Regions from separate parts of the Homo sapiens genome. Here region 1 is linked to region 2. The links are contacts of gene promoters, found by promoter capture Hi-C in human tissues and cell types (Jung and others, 2019). All regions are on one chromosome and are shown on one strand. The core of a region is centred on a gene start or on the middle of the fragment in contact, and the rest is flanking DNA. Distances in the headings are between cores, read along the strand shown.

What was found. The method cuts DNA at HindIII sites, captures the fragments that hold promoters and counts their contacts. A contact is called where the count stands out against the background at its distance.
Region 1: a contact is called between a fragment that was not itself captured here and the fragment with the promoter of SAAL1 in region 2, in 1 of the 25 tissues and cell types used here (hippocampus).

Annotation. Positions count from the first base shown.
Region 1 is chr11:18,462,015-18,464,870 of GRCh38, forward strand. It overlaps LDHAL6A (lactate dehydrogenase A like 6A), which reads left to right. Exons shown (of 7, transcript NM_144972.5): 2 at 1,947-2,064. Among named protein-coding and RNA genes, the nearest start is that of LDHAL6A, 7.6 kb to the left of the region's middle. The HindIII fragment of the contact is 8,025 bases long and covers 1-2,856 here.
Region 2 is chr11:18,104,383-18,107,501 of GRCh38, forward strand. It overlaps SAAL1 (serum amyloid A like 1), which reads right to left and starts at 1,700. Exons shown (of 12, transcript NM_138421.3): 1 at 1,525-1,700. The coding sequence starts at 1,659. It also overlaps the pseudogene HIGD1AP5. RefSeq lists enhancers at 1,446-1,705, 1,856-1,905. The HindIII fragment of the contact is 11,884 bases long and covers 1-3,119 here.

The sequences.
Region 1 (2,856 bases), core at 86-2,585, 360 kb after region 2:
GTGGCAGGCTCCTGTGATGTGGTGGTAGGCGCCTGTTGTCCCAGCTACCCAGAAGGCTGAGGTGGGAGGATCATCTGAGCCTGAGAAAGTTGAGGCTGCAATGAGTCATGATCATGCTACTGTACTCCTACCTGGGGGACAGAGCAAGCCCCTGTCTCAGAAACAAAAAGTAAAAGTAAAATTCAGAAAGATACATACAAGGCCGGGCGCGGATTAAGGCTTGTGCCTGTAATCCCATCACTTTGAGAGACCGGGGCAGGTGGATCACTTGAAGTCAGGAGTTTGAGACCAGCCTGGCCAACATGGTGAAACCCTGTCTCTACTAAAAATACAAAAAAATTGGCCGGGTGCGGTGTCTCATGCCTGTAATCCCAGCACTTTGGGAGGCAGAGGCGGGCGGATCACTAGGTCAGGAGATCAAGACCATCCTGGCTAACACGGTGAAACCCCGTCTCTACTAAAAATACAAAAAATTAGCCAGGTGTGGTGGCGGGCGCCTGTAGTCCCAGCTACTCGGGAGGCTGAGGCAGGAGAATGGCGTGAACCTGGGAGGCGGAGCTTGCAGTGAGCCGAGATCACGCCACTGCACTCCAGCCTGGGCAACAGAGCAAGACTCTGTCTCAAAAAACAAACAAACAAACAAAAAAAAAAACAAAAAAAACCCAAAAATTAGCTGGGCATGGTGGTGCATGCCTGTAATCCCAGCTACTCAGGAAGCTGAGGCAGGAGAATCACTAGAACCCAGGAAGCGGAGGTGGCAGTGAGCCGAGATTGCACCACTGCACTCCAGCCTGGGGAACAGAGCAAGAGACTCCATCTCAAAAAAAAACAAAAACAAAAACAAAAAAACATACATGGAGAAGTCATACTGGTTTCCATCCAATCTTTCCTTAGCATCCACTTTAGGCAATTATTTGAATCAGTTTCTTGTATTTCTAGTGTTTTTTTTTTTTCAAATAGAAGTATATTTTCTCTCCTTTCTTACATATAAAGTAGCATCATAGAAATTATAGTATGAATTGATTTCTGTAGGTAATAACTGTCTGATTATAGAACTAAAATATTTTTGAGTTGGAAGGAGCCCTATATTTTAATCCATTTGCTGTGGTTTGAATGTTTGTCCCCTCTGGAACTCGTTTAAATTTAATCCTCAATGTGGCAGTATTGAGAGGTGGGGCCTTTAAGAGTTGACTGGGTCATGAGGGCTCTGCCATGGATTAATCTATGGATGAATGGGTTATCAGGGGAGTGGGAATGGTAGCTTTATAAGAAGAGGAAGACAGACCTGAATTTAGCAATCGCAGCCTCCTTGCCATGTGATGCCCTGTGCTGCCTTGGGACTCTGCAGAGTCTCCTCCAGCAAGAAAGCCCTCACCATATGGCGGCCCCCTGACCTTGGACTTCTCAGCCTCCATAACTGTAAGAAATAAATTCCTTTTCTTTATAAGGTACTCAGTTTCATGTATTCTGTTATAAGGAACAGAAAATGGACTAAGATACCATTTATTCAAAAAACTTTTACTGAGCTCCTCTGTGCCAGGTGGATGATAAGTAAGCACCAGATGGCTGGGGATGAATGACTTCCTAGTCTCAAGAAGCTCAAGGTCTGGTGAGAAATTCCTTCAGCAGAAGCACTACTTTATCACTGTGCAGCCTCAGCTGAAATTGAAAATCGGGGTGTTCACTACTTTCAGAGATTGTTCTATTTACTAAGCAGTTTCTGTTTTTGTTTTCCTCATGATGAGCTGAAATGCTCCTCTTTGTAATTTGTATTTTTTCTGGTTTAGACTTTTATATCATGACAAAATGATGAGATCATTTATTATGTTTCCTTTGATTTTGATAATTCACAAGCTAGACATAGATCACCAATATAAGAATTTTCTTTCATTCTCCAGTTAATCAAGAGATACACTCACACCCATTGGACTAACAATGTTTTTCAGGGTTTGAGTGATGAACTTGTCCTTGTGGATGTTGATGAAGGCAAACTGAAGGGTGAGACAATGGATCTTCAACATGGCAGCCCTTTTATGAAAATGCCAAATATTGTCTCCAGCAAAGGTTAATGTCATAGTTAAATACTATAAATATTCTAATATACATGAACAAGTATCTAAGAAAATCATCTTTATTTCTTTTGACCTCCCCAGTTTTTATAGATAAGGCTGGTTGCTCCCTACTCTGTACTCTCATAACGTGTTCAGATTCCTTGGGTTGTACTTTGCAAGGTTTCCCACGGCACCAGACTGAGTTCCTTGTGAGCAGCAGTAACAGCAGTTATCATGACAGCTACAATGAACTGACTGCCTATTGTGTGTGAGACATTGACCCAAGCACTTTATATAATTTAATCCTGAGCACAACTCTATTTTAGAGATGATGTACCTCTGAACTAAGGTTAATTAAAAGTGATAGGACCAGGCATGGTGGCTCATGCCTGTAATCCCAGAACTTTGGGAGGCCAAGGCAGGTGGATCACCTGAGGTTGGGAGTTCGAGACCAGCCTGACTAACATACAGAAACCCTGTCTCTATTAAAAACATAAAAATTAGCCGGGCGTGGTGGTGCATGCCTGTAACCCCAGCTACTCAGGAGGCTGAGGCAGGAGAATCGCTTGAACCTGGGAGGTGGAGGTTGTGGTGAGCCAAGATCGTGCCATTGCATTCTAGCCTGGGCAACAAGAGTGAAACTCTGTCTCAAAAAAAAAAAAAAAAGTGATGGAGTAGGGATTTGAACTCAGTTCTGTTTGATTCCAAAGCCTAAGCTCTTCACTACTGTACTTTATTCACTTGGCACCTGGGAGATAATTATTTGAACAAACGAATGAACCAACAATTTGCTATTCAAAGGTCT
Region 2 (3,119 bases), core at 450-2,949:
GCTAGGCACTGGGGTAGATATACAAAGACAAGTAAGATATAATCCCTTACATTTAAGCTTTTTTTTTTTTTTAACTTTTAGGATCTAGTGGGGAAAGACATGTAAAGGGATAGTCATATTAGAAAAGGCAAAGTGATTCAACTGAATTGTGGACAAAGAGTTCTGGTAGCAAAAACGATGGACCAATGACCTATTCCTAGGAGAAGATGGGGAACCTTCCCTTAGGTGCTGATATTTAAGCTAAATTTTAAAGGAAGAATAGTAGTTTGTCATGTGAAGAAGGAGAGAAGTGAGTATTCAGAGGAAAGCACAAGAGTTCAGAGTTAAGAAAGGGCCTAGCATGTTTGGGGATGGTGAACAGTTCAGAGTTGATGGAACACAGTGTATCATGAGAAGATGAGGCTGGAAAATGTACAAACAGCCCTGGATTCCAAACTTCAAGAAACATGCATTTTTCTCCCAGGCAAAAAGAACTAAGAGCAGTATCATGAATAGCCCTGTCTTTAAAGAAGATTATTCTGGCAGCTGTGTAGAAAATTGACTGGAGAGGATAGACAATAGGAGGAGAGGAACCAATTAGGGAAACATGGGGGGAAGAAAACACATTTACTGACAGCCTCCTATAAGCCAAACACCATGCTAAGCACTCTGTTGCCATTATAATCTCACTTAACCTACACAATAACCTTATATATAATATAAATATTATAATCCCATTTTATAGAAATTAAGGGACAAATAGAGGTTCTGAGCCGTTAGGTGACCTGCAGCTAGTGGGTAAGGAAGCTGCGTTTTTTGTTTTTTTGAGACAGGGTCTTACTCCGTCCCCCAGCCTGGAGTGCAGAAGCTGGATCATAGCTCACTGCAGCCTCCAACTTCAGGCTCAAGCGATCCTCCAGCCTCAGCCTCCTGAGTCGCTGGGACTACAGGCGTGCACCGTCACGACCGGCTTTTTTTTTTTTTTTTTTTTAAGTTTGTAGAAACCAGGTCTATGTTGCCCAGGCTGGTCTCAAACTCCTGGCTCAAGCGATCCTTCCGCCTCGGCCTCCCAAAGTGTTGGGATTACAGAGGTGAGCCACCGCGCCTGGTCAGAAGCCACGTTTTTAATATAAAAGTTGTATAACCCTAAAGTCACCATTTATTCTATTACAACGATAGTCCATGAAATACATAAATTAAGGACCTGGGCTTCAGAAATGACAGTGGGGATGGGGAGCAAAACCCGAGGAATGCAGTTACACGATCATGTATTTTTGGAGAACTTGGGAAAGCAAAATAGAACGGCAAGTATTTCAGCATCCCTACCATTATACTTCCCTTTGTGTCGAGAGACCCCGAGGGGGCCCAGATAGTTTTGGGGTCCGCAGCGGCCGGCGAAACGCAAGGAGCAAGGTCCCGCAGCGCACGCCTGGGGAGGGGTCTTTGTGGGGATGGCGGCTCCCGGGGCAGGAGGATTCGCCAGAGGCGGAGCCCCGGTGCCTGGGGGATGTAGGGACACCCCACGCGTGGCGCGAGTTTCCACACCTGGATGAGTCCGCTGAGGACGCCGAAGAGCCAGTGTTTGCTGTAGACCGTGCTCCCTATGCAGTCTCCACCGGCCACCTCCTCCTCCTCCTCCTTGTCGCGACCCGGCGGCGGCGGCGAGGGGTTGCGGTCCATGACTTTGTCGCGTCCCGCGCTTGAAGGCCGTGCCGGAAGCTGCGGAGGAGACGACCGGCGCCCTAGTGCCAGAGCGCCCGGCGTACCCGGTGGGACTCCCCCTACAGCGCCATCTGCTGTTCGGAGCCTGGCCAGCTGCCAAGGCGGCTTGACCTCCCCCACCCCATCCTATCGAGGACCCTGGCACGAACATACTCATAATTATTTGTCACCCTCACTGAATCAGGTGTTCCATTTCTCCAGGAGCTCTTAGACTGATTGAAGAAGGAAGGGTGGGGAGCAGTGAGGAAGCCTCAGGAACAGATGTGAATCTCAAAGCTAGCGGACTTATTCTATTCGCCTTCTGATCTATGTTGCCCAGGCTGGTCTCGAACTTCTGGCTCAAGCAATCCTTCTGCCTCGGCCTCCCAAAGTGTTGGGATTACAAACGTGAGCCACCGCGCCTGGTCAGAAGCCACTTTTTTTATATAAAAGTTGTATAACCCTAATAATATAATCCTCTGATCTCTGGCCACTGTTGCCATTCCTAAAAATATCCGTAGGGGAAGCTGGATGGCTTGTGAGGGATTCCAGGGATCCAAAGTGATTCGAAAAACTAAAGAGGCACCATTTGTCCCCATTGGAATGGCAGGTTTTGCAGTAGTTGCTGCATACGGATTATACAAATTGAAAAGCAGGGGAAATACTAAAATATCACGTCACCTGATCCACATGCGTGTGGCAGTCCAGCTTTGTTGTAGGAGCAATGACTGTTGGTATGGGCTATTCCATGTATCCGGATTTCTATGCAAAACTTAAACCTTAGAAGAAGAGATGTTGTCTTTGTCTTGTTGGAGGAGCTTGACTCATTAATGAGTCATCTCATTATTGAAGTTACATGTTTATGTTGAACATAAATTATTTGGGTAGGTTCAGATGATACTACGGTATTTTGAATAGTCGCTTCCTTTCGTGTAGGCTTGATTTGCCTGGTGACCAAATTATTAGTGACTAGTTCACTAACTAGATCATTCCGGGGAGCCAAGTTAACACACAAGAAACACGTCACCTAAATGCGCTTGATGGTGTTAAAATGTCCAACTTCTTAAACTGTTAAGATGAAATTAATACTAAGGAAGATAGCAGGCCAATCCTGAAGTACTCCCAGTTTGCTGCAGAATCTTGCATGTTTCGAATGTTAAGAGTCCAATTTACTCCAGTTAATTTAACTTTTTTTCTGTCTGTCTTGTGGACTGGTTGGCTCTTTTAGAACTCTTTAAAAAAAAGTGCATGAAATATAACTTGTAAAGCCTCCTACAACTGACAGTATTGTGTGCGTGTGTTTAAACCGAATCTAGAAACCTTACAACAGACCTGCATAGTATTAGTATTGATTAAAGAACCACAATTGTAAACATGAGAAAACCTTAATTATGGATTTCAGTTTAGCACTTTTGTAATTGCAGAATTACATTTTTGCT